Regions from separate parts of the Homo sapiens genome. Here region 2 is linked to region 1. The links are contacts of gene promoters, found by promoter capture Hi-C in human tissues and cell types (Jung and others, 2019). All regions are on one chromosome and are shown on one strand. Each heading gives the region's core, a stretch centred on a gene start or on the middle of the fragment in contact. The rest is flanking DNA. Distances are from core to core; before and after follow the strand shown.

What was found. Contacts are between HindIII fragments. The study calls those that stand out against the background at their distance.
Region 2: a fragment that was not itself captured here is called in contact with the fragment with the promoter of NANS in region 1 in 1 of the 25 tissues and cell types used here (pancreas).

The regions. Positions count from the first base shown.
Region 1 is chr9:98,054,446-98,059,607 of GRCh38, forward strand. It overlaps NANS (N-acetylneuraminate synthase), which reads left to right and starts at 2,287. Exons shown (of 6, transcript NM_018946.4): 1 at 2,287-2,495. The coding sequence starts at 2,364. It also overlaps a transcript of TRIM14 not described here. RefSeq lists enhancers at 1,796-1,845, 2,886-3,005 and silencers at 2,036-2,385, 2,466-2,635. The HindIII fragment of the contact is 24,529 bases long and covers 1-5,162 here.
Region 2 is chr9:97,721,698-97,726,859 of GRCh38, forward strand. It overlaps PTCSC2 (papillary thyroid carcinoma susceptibility candidate 2), which reads right to left. Exons shown (of 11, transcript NR_147055.1): 6 at 2,716-2,833; 7 at 1,103-1,237. Among named protein-coding and RNA genes, the nearest start is that of XPA, 27 kb to the left of the region's middle. The HindIII fragment of the contact is 4,075 bases long and covers 171-4,245 here.

The DNA of each region.
Region 1 (5,162 bases), core at 1,037-3,536:
TGAACCAATTGGGAGAAGGAAAGGGGTGTTGGCAGCACCTAGACTACTCACCAAATCAGACACCCCATAATGGGGCTGCAGCTGCAGACAATCCATGATGGGGCTACAAACAGACACTGTGATAAGGTTACAGTTACAGGCACCCCATGGTGGAGCTACAGAGGGACACCTTGCCATGGAGCTCTAGTTATGAGATATCTCCCCAGGACAATTTCTCTATTGCAAAGTGTACTCCATACATATTGGGCTAGTAGTGCCCTGCCGATAGAGATGACGCCAGAGTCAGCCCCCAGTCCAAAACTAGGTGGCCGCTTGGGCTGGCCTCTGGATCCATCGCCAGAGGGGGTCTACAGAACCGGGGCAGGTAGCACAAGAGCAATCCCGAATGAGCCCCCAAATTTTTAACTGCTCAACTGGTTCACCATGCCCACTACCTACACAGCTGATTTATCAAAATAGGGGAATTGCAATAGAGAGAGTAATTCATGCAGAGCCAGCTGTGCAGTCTGGCTGAGTTTTATTATTACTCACATCAATTTCCCCTAGCATTCAGGGATCAGAGGTTTTTGGGGTTTTTGTTTGTTTGTTTTTGAAATGGAGTTTCGCTCTTGTTGCCCAGGCTGGAGTGCAATGGCACAATCTCAGCTCACTGCAACCTCCGCCTCCCAGGTTTAAGCGATTCTCCTACCTCAGCCTCCCAAGTAGTTGGGATTACAGGCATGCACCACCATACCTGGCTCATTTTGTATTTTTAGTAGAGACAGGGTTTCACCATGTTGGCAAGGCTGGTCTCGAACTCCTGACCTCAGGTGATCCACCCGCCTCAGCCTCCCAAAGTGCTAGGATTACAGGTGTGAGCCACTATGCCCCACCTTGGAGATCAGAGTTTTTAAGGATAATGTGGTGGGTTAAGAGAGGCCAGTATGCCAGGAGTGCTGATTGGTTGTGTTGGAGATAAAATCATAGAAAGTCAAGGCTGTCTTCTTGTGCCAAGTCAGTTCCTGGTTGGGGGACACAAGATCAGATGAACCAGTTTATCAATCTGGTGGTGCCAGCTGATCCATCAAGTGCAGGGTCTGCAAAATATCTCAAGCACTGGTCTTAGGTTTTACAATAGTGATGTTATCCCCAGGAGCAATTTGGGGAGGGTCAGAATCTTGTAGCCTCCAGGTGCATGACTCCTACGTGTCTAATCTTGTGGCTAATTTGTTAGTCCTACAAAGGCAGTCTAGTTCCCAGGAAAGAAGGAGGTTTATTTTGGGAAATAACTTATCTTATTTTTTAAATTAATTAATTAATTTATTTATTTTTGAGACAGAGTCTTGCAGTGTCACCAGGCTGGAGTGCAGTGGTGTGATCTGGGCTCACTGCAACCTCCACCTCCCGGGTTCAAGCGATTCTCCTGCCTCAGCCTCTCGAGTAGCTGGGATTACAGGCACGCACCACCACGCCCGGCTAATTTTTTTGTATTTTTAGTAGAGACGGGGTTTCTCCATATTGGTCAGGCTGGTCTCGAACTCCTGACCTCAGGTGATCTGCCTGCCTTGGCCTCCCAAAGTGCTGGGATTACAGGTGTGAGCCACCGCGCCCGCCCAGGTGATTGTATTTTAAGAGCCTGGGGCTGGGAGGTCCGGGTACTAGTCCCATCTCTGCTTTGGCTTTCTGGATGGCTTTGGACAAGCCAGTGCAACTTCTCGAACCTGTTGCCTCTCATATAATAGGAACCTCCGCCACTTCTTGAAAACTTACTACAAGCCAAGTATTGTGATCAGGGGTTTCTATACGTCATCTCACAGTTCTATTTTATTTTTTTGCTTCAGAGAGAAACAAAAATAACGCTCCGGAAGACTGAGTAACGTATATATGAGCAGGAGCTGGTGACTGGCATAGGCTGGACTCGATCCAGCTCTGTGATTCTAACTCTAGCAACCCTGTTTTTTCCATTACACCATAGGGCGCGCTCTCCCCATGCTCCTGAGAGCAGGACATAGACTATGCCCTGCGCAGGCAGCCGTCCGCCTCCTGCAGGGAATGCTTGCTCCTGGGTGCACGCACGGATACCGCGATGGTCCGAGACCACGCTCTGGGACAGCAAGCCTCAAGCCTCGCACAGGAGAGGGCCGCGGAGCTTCCTCGACCCGCCCCGCCGCCCTTCCCGCGGGAGGCCCCGCCCCCGCCCCCCGCCCCGATTGGCTGTCGGGAGAGAGGCGGGGCCTAGGGGATTGGCTGCCCGGCGACCGCGGGCTGACGTGGCGGGGCTGGCGTGTGGGTCTCGCAGCGTTGCTCACAGAACAGAGTAGAGGCGGCGGCGGCGGCGGCCGGACCCAGACTGGTAGTGAGGCTTTGGACCCCGAGCCGCTGCAATGCCGCTGGAGCTGGAGCTGTGTCCCGGGCGCTGGGTGGGCGGGCAACACCCGTGCTTCATCATTGCCGAGATCGGCCAGAACCACCAGGGCGACCTGGACGTAGCCAAGCGCATGATCCGCATGGCCAAGGTGAGGCGGCAGCTCCCGGGACCCGGGATTCGGGCGCCGGGAGGGGCGGGGCGGGGCCGCGGGGAGCCAGGGCCACACGGCCTCCGCGGCTGGGTACCCTGGTCCGGCCTCTTCCCGCCCGCCAGTTCCGTTTTCGGAATCCTTCGGATCCCTCTTCCTCACCGTGTCCGCCACCCTCGTGACCTTTCTGCATTACAGCAGCTGCCTCCTAACCCGACCTGTTTCCTCCCCGTTCTGGTGCCAGAATAATCTTTCTAAAAGTCAGACTTGATCAGACCATCCCCCCTGCCTGGCACCTTCTGTGGCTCCCTCCTGCCCGCGGGTAGAGTCGAAACCCTTTAACATAGCCTTCAAGATTTTAATGACTGGGCCCCTTCCAGCCCGTCATAATTCTTCTCTGACATTCTTCAGCGACACAGAGTTACTTTCAGGAATGACAGTTCCTGGAAGTTGCTGTGGTCTCTCTCACCCGCCATTCCCTGTATATGAAATATGAAGTGGTTAAAAGCCGGGCCTTTGAGTTCAAATCTCAGTTCCACCACTACTAGCTGTGTGAACATGGGCTGCTTACTTAGCCTCCGTGAACCCTTTTCCCCATTTGAAAACGGGGCTTGAAAACAACAGTTCTTTCCACATGGAGTTGTTATGGGGATCAAATGAGATTCTCAGATAGAGCTCTGAGCCCAGCACTTGGCACACATGAGTCGGTAAATGCGTGCTCCCTCTTCTGTTGGGACTGCCATATTCTTCATTACGACCCCAGCCCCCAGCATAAGGCCTGGCCTGCACTATGATTCTTTGGTTTAGAGATAGCTCACCCCATCTTTCCTTTCCCTTCATCAATGCTACTCAACTGATTTTGTATCATTTGTGATAGGTTTTTTAAATGTTTATTTATTTATTTATCTATGTTAGAGACAGGGTCTTGCTCTGTCACCCAGGCTGGAGGTTTTCTCTTACTGTTTTTTTTTTTTTTTCCTGGTTTTTTTTTTTTTTTTTTTTGAGACAGGGTCTCTGTATCACCCAGGCTGGAGTGCAGTGGCATGATCCCGGCTCACTGCAACCTCTGCCTCCCAGGCTTAAGTGATTCTCCCACCTCAGCCTCCCGAGTAGCTGGGACCCACAGGCGTGAACCACCATGCTGGGCTAATTTTTTTGTAGAGATGGGGTTTGGCCATGTTACCCAGGCTGGTCTCGAACTCCTGAGCTCAAGCAATCTGCCCACCTTGGCCTCCGAAAGTGCTGGGATTACAGGTGTGAGCCACCACCCTCGGCCCTTGCTGTTCCTTCGGGACTGGTTTTATGGAAACCTAATCACTGAATCATAAAAATACTTTACAAAAATAACATTGCTAACATTTTTTGAGTGCTTACTCTACCAGGTACTAAGCTAAATGCTGTACATGCACCATCTCATTTAATTTTTACAACAACCCAATGCCATGATGCTGCCGATTTCATTTTAAAGGCTAAGAGAAAATAAGTGACTTAGGCAAGGTCACATAGCTAGTATAATAAATACAGTAAGGGGTTTTTTCAGTTTTTGCTCCTAAGCCACAGGACTCCAGCCTTTCTTCTGCAACATTGTTTTCTAGAGGGAAATTCCCACTCTTAATTTGAAGGAGCAGTCTGTTTTTCCTCTTGGAATGCCGAAGTTGTAGAAATATCTAGAGATACTGAAGCCATAGAAACAAAGCTGTACTGACCAGGTGCAGTGGCTGATTCCTGTAATCCCATCACTTTGGGAGGCTGAGGAAGGCAGATTGCTTGAGCTCAGGAATTCGAGACCAGCCTGGGCCACATAGCGAGACCCTGTCTCTAATTCCATTGAGCTGGAATCTAGGTGGCTGCAGCCTTTAGGAAAGGGATCTGGCCAGCTCTGCTAGAGACACTGTGCAACTTTAGTCAGGTCAGTCTGGGCCTTGGGATCTTCATCTAGACAATGAGAGCTCTGTTGCCCAAGGTCACTTTCAGTTCTAATGTTCTTTGAACTTTCCAGCATCAAGTCCTGACTCTACCATCTTATGATTTGTCTAAGAGCAGGAGTAGTGATCTCAGCACTGACATTTCTGGACCCAAGAAGTTTTTATTTTTTTTTTTCAAGACGGAGTCTCGCTGTGTCACCCAGGCTGGAGTGCAGTGGCGTGATCTCGGCTTACTGCAAGCTCCGCCTCCTGGGTTCACACCGTTCTCCTGTCTCAGCCTCCCGAGTAGCTGGGATTACAGGTGCCCACCACCACACCTAGCTAATTTTTTGTATTTTTAGTAGAGACGGGGTTTCACCATGTTAGCCAGGATGGTCTCGATCTCCTGACCTCGTGATCTGCCCACCTCGGCCTCCCAGAGTGCTGGGATTACAGGTGTGAGCCACTGCGCCCGGCAGCCAAGAAGTTTTTAATAGCATGAATACCTCTGTGTCTACAGAAATGGCCGTGAGATGGGACTTTAGTGGGTTTTAATTACTCTTTTTCTTGAGTAGATTGTTTTTGTTTGAGTCAAGGTCTCACTCTGTTGCTCAGGCTGGAGTGCAGTGGCACCATCATAGCTCATTGCCACCTCAACCTCTGGGGATCAAGCGATCCTCCCCCCTCAGCCTCCTGAGTAGCTGGGACTACAAGCGTATGCCACCATGCCTGGCTAATTTTTATATTTTTTGTAGAGACAGGG
Region 2 (5,162 bases), core at 958-3,457, 330 kb before region 1:
TTAGGTGTTGATAGAAATCAAGGTTATATAACATCAGTAAGCCAACTTTGGAACCCCTAAAGAGAGAGGGGTGAGCATCCTGAGGGAAGCAGATGAGCCTGGGCTGCAGACACGGGGCTCTGGGCCTTTGTTCATGCTGTCCTTCACCCATGATGCCTTCTGTCCCCAGTACAAAAATTCCCATAGCAGCCATGCAATGGCGTCTTCAATGTAAATTGAAAAATACAGGCGTTAGAGGATTCTAATCCACCTTGGCCAGGATTCTTTTCCTCAGTGAGCCTCAGTTTTCTTTATCTGTAAAATGAGGATAGTGTTCTTTTCCCTATCTCAGAGTCATCATGTGGGTTACAAGGTAAGAATCAGGGACCAATTTAGACATGACCTACTCCACCCCTTATTTTACAAATGAGGAACTTGGGACCCAGAGAAAGTAAGTTACCTGCCCAAGATTACCCAGCAAGTCAGTAGCTGAGCTGGGGCTGGAACTCAGCCTTCAGGAGAGACCCTTTTTCTTTTTAGCAGGCTGGTGAGATGTATACAATAAACCATAACATGCTATGTAAATGTCATTTGAGGTTACCTGTCTTAAAGATGCCTAGACATCAGTGTACCTGTTTCTTTTCGTAAAGTTTTGTTCCAATGAACGAAGCCCCAAGCCTGTGCTTTTCAGCCTTTGAAGGAAGCCTACAGGGTATTTGAGTTATCTTTGCAACTGTGGGCCTCTGGTCCTAATTCCATCATGGCCACTGTCTGCTGAAGACAGCAGTGACTTTGCCTGGCCCTCCCTGCCCCTTGATCAGGAATGCAGGGAATTAGCCTCATGCATAAGGCCACTTGACCTTCTGCAGGGTGACATGGTGATGAGGACAGGCGGGGGGACCTTTTAGTGGCAAATGGTTCTTCCCTGAATTGGGTAAACATTCTTGAAATGTACACATCACTCTCAAATATTTGTCTCCCTGACTTGTACTTTTTTCTTTCCAAGTTGTATGGAACTAGAAAACAACCTGGGAGGTTTCCAATCAATGAATACCACAATCCAAAATAAAATGTCTTCTTTCTTCTTTCCTATCATTAAAAATAAAATGAAAGAGTACACTACCTTAAGGAACAAGGCCATTTTCATTGTGTGGAGAACAGTGGTGTTTGAAATAGCAGGAACAGGCAGAAAGGAGGTTTGGTCACCTTATTTTAAACAGCTAAAGCCACCCAAATCTCTATTTCTGTTCTCTCATACCTAGAGACACAAAAAAATTCACAAAAAATAATAAAACCTAGTTAGAATGTAAAGGAGTCAATCAGTTTTCACTTGCAGCAGATTAAATGGTCTAGAATGAAATGAGAGGCATGGAGAGGTCTCCTGGCCCCTCAGACGTGCTCTCCAAATGTGGAGGCCAGTTCTTTGCATCACTCCACAGTGCATCCCCACACAGATGGCAGAGTGTGAAAGCGTATTGCAACCCAAATCAGCATCTTCCCTTTAGTACAGTATTTAAAAGGACTGGCCAGGTGCAGGTGCTCATGCCTGTAGTCCCAACACTTTTTTTTTTTTTTTGAGACAGAGTCTCACTCTGTTGCACAGGCTGGGATTCAGTGGTGCCATCTTGGTTCACTGCAGTGTCCGCCTCCTGGGCTGAAGCAATTCTCCTGCCTCAGCCTCCCGAGTAGCTGGGATTACAGGCACGCATCACCACACCTGGCTAATTTTTGTATTTTTAGTAGAGACTGGGTTTCACCATGTTGGCCAGGCTGGTCTTGAACTCCTGACCTCAAATGATCTACCTGCCTCCGCCTCCCAAAGTGCTGGGATTACAGGCATGAGCCACTGCGCCCTGCCTGTAATCCCAACATTTTGAGAGGTGGCAGCAGGAGGACTGCTTGAGGCCAGGAGTTTGAGACCAGCTACATAGCAACATAACGAGACCCCATCTCTACAAAAAATCTTAAAAATTAGCTGGGCTTGCACTTGTAGTCTGAGCTACTTGAGAGGCTAGGGCAGGAGGATTGTTAGAGCCCATGAGTTTGAAGTTAATGAGCTACAATCGTGCCACTGCACTCCAGCCTGGATGACAGAGCAAGACCCTTTCTCTAGATAAAAATTTAAAAATAGAAAAAAGTTTACAAAAAATACAAGACAGCCTCGGTTAAAGCAGAAGTCACTGGCTGCTTTTCCATTTTTGATAGCAGAAGCTTAAATAGATGTGAGTGACTGCAGTTAATGGAAAACATGAAGTCTTCAGCTAAGACTTTTGATCCATGAGAAAACTTCTTCCATTTCAGTTTGAATTCCTTCAGCAGTAGTCATTGAGAACCTACCCATAGAGTAGGTACACTCTGCACTCTGCCAGGTGGAGGGATTAGATTTCATTCTTCCCTTCTGTAAGAGGGGAAGACAGACATATCACCTCTTAATTCAAAAACAAGGTGCAATGAGGCAGGTGCTAAGTAGAGGTGCATGTAACGTAGTCAAGGTAATGTAAAACAGAAACAGAAAAATTCTGATAGGAGGGAAATAATCAAGAAAGCTTCATGGAGGAGTTGGGGCAAGAAGGATTCTGGGCTGGGTGTGGCGGCTCATGCCTGTGATCCCAACAGTTTGAGAGGCTGAGGTGGGAGGATAGTTTGAAGCCAGGAGTTTGAGACCAGCCTAGTGAATATAGTGAGACCCGTCTCTACAAAAAATTTAAAAAATTATCCAGGCATGGTGGTGCGTACCTGGAGTCCCAGCTACTTGGGAGGCTGATGTGGGAGGATCACTTGAGCGCAGGAGTTTGAGGCTGCAGTGAGCCATGATTGTGCCACTGCACTCCAGCCTGGGTGGCAGAGAGAGATCCTGTCTCAAAAACAAAAACAAAAACAGGTTAACATTAGGGAATACTTTGTGATGATATATGGGAATTTTCTGCATTACCTCTGTAACTTTTCTATAAATAAAAAATGTCCCCCTAAGGTGTCACACCCTTTGAAGATTCTTATTCAAATCAATGTTTTCCATGATAGTTGGAAAATGATGATCTTCCAACTTTAGCACCATCTTCACATTTAATGGTTGGCATTTTACTGTAAGCAGGAGCCCTCTCCTCTCTCCTGTTTCTTATCTACTTATTATTGATCTATTTATTCTTGCACAGACTCATAGATTCCTATTTTTCAATGGTTTATTTTCTTTATTTTCTTAATTATGTTGATGCTCAAATTGTCCTAGATTTGGCCAGTGGAAGCCTCTTCAAGTTGATTTCCTTGTCCTTTTGACAGGTCCCCATCACTTTTTTGAGCACTGCCTTACTTTCCAGCACAAGGTATTTAATGCTTATTTTGTAAAGGAAAAGTGTGTGATTAGAACAAAAAAAGGGGCCCTCACAGATCAACAAAGATGGTTGTGCATTGGCAATTATAGGTATAATTAAGTGCAAATTATTTTGAGCATATAACACAGAAAGAAATAACTGCACAGAAAAAAGAAAGGACCATAATAAAAGACTAAAAGAAACTCTTGGAATTATGAAAAGTTTTTTTCATATTGTTCTTTTTTTCTGTATATTCAAAATTTTATGTAATGAGAATGTATTAGTTTTATAATGAGAAAAATTACATAAAAGGTTTTTCCTTTTTAAGAATAATGGAGTGGACGAGCTCTGAGACATTACAACAGGATAAATAAATATGTCCAAAACACCAATAAAGATGCCTGAAAACACCTCTTCACGATCATCAGTCACACTATCAAAAACTATCAGTCCTATGGCTGAACCAGGGTTGGAAAATGTGGGTTTCTATATCTTATTCTATGGTGTACCTCTTGGGTTACTTTGTCTAATCACTTCATCAATTTGGGTCTTAACTTCCTCACCTGAAAAAGAGGATAATAACTTCTTGCTATATTAGCAATGTAATGAGACTCAAATGAAACCATGTATATGAAAACTCCTTTAAAATGCTACAAAAGTAAATGGTTTTATAAAAGAGCTTTTTTAAAAATGGCTGCTTTATTGAAACGTTTTAACAGTTTCTTTTTTAAAAAAGCAGCCAATTTGGAGGACCTACGCATTTGGATGGTGAAGCCCTTTGGCAGTCTGAGTAAGCCCATTTGGGTTCTGTGTTGCAGCCTGGGCAACTACCTCTCCATGGCTGCATCTTAATTGGGGTCCCCAGAAGAAACCCTGGAGGAAGATTCATGTGAAAGTGATGTATTAGGAAGTGCTCCCAGAAAAAATGGTAAGGCAGTGGGGCACCGTATCACACAAGGCACTCGGAGGAGAACTTTGGCTTAATCCCACCAGGGAGCTCTGGTGAGGGTCACACCCGTGAGTCGTCCTGGTCAGGGGCTGGGGGCTAGAGTACTTATGCCTCAGCACCCATCAATTACTAGAAAAAGAGTGGGTGGGGGTGGGTAATCTCCCAGGTACTTCCAGCTCTCCTGTGTGCGGACAGAACAGTCGCCAGCAGCCCTGGACTCTATCCTCTGACAAAGAGATGCAGATGCTGGCCACAGGTAGGCCCCCAATGGTAAAGGAATCTAAATGGATATGCACTGACAATATCAGCTCAAAGAAGGACTAATTCCTTCCAGGCTGGACGTTCAGAACACGAGAAATGAGAACAAGAGACACATAGGACAGGCCTCTCTGGAGACGGCCCAGAGAGGTTGAGTGACCTATCAGGGTCACTCAGGTGGCAGAGTCAGGATTCCAGCCCTGGTGTATCTGACTCCAAATCCCATGTGCCCTTTTCTGTGCCCTACTGTCTCACTACATGAGCTAATGCCTTATCTATGGAGGACCACCCATAGGAAATCTTTCATGTACCACAAAATCCTACACACCCCATCTGCCCTCAGAAATCCAAAGCCCTCATGGGTGTCCCCAGGTTGACATTAATGTCCCCTTCCCTATAATCACCCCTGTCCTCTTGAATTTGTCCAGCATCAGGGATCAAGGTGAATTAAATTATGACCTTATGAACTCCACAGAGAGACACCTATGTCTCAGATACAGGGTGGCCCATCTCCTGGCTGCAACGGCAGTATTAGTGATTTAAGTTAGATAAACAGGTACCATCCCTAACAAAAAACCTTGTGAGCTCATCGGCTTGTTTCTCTTTTATTGTATTTAAAGGCAATTTCCCCACATCCTGCATCTTGAACATGAGCAAACATGTGAAGG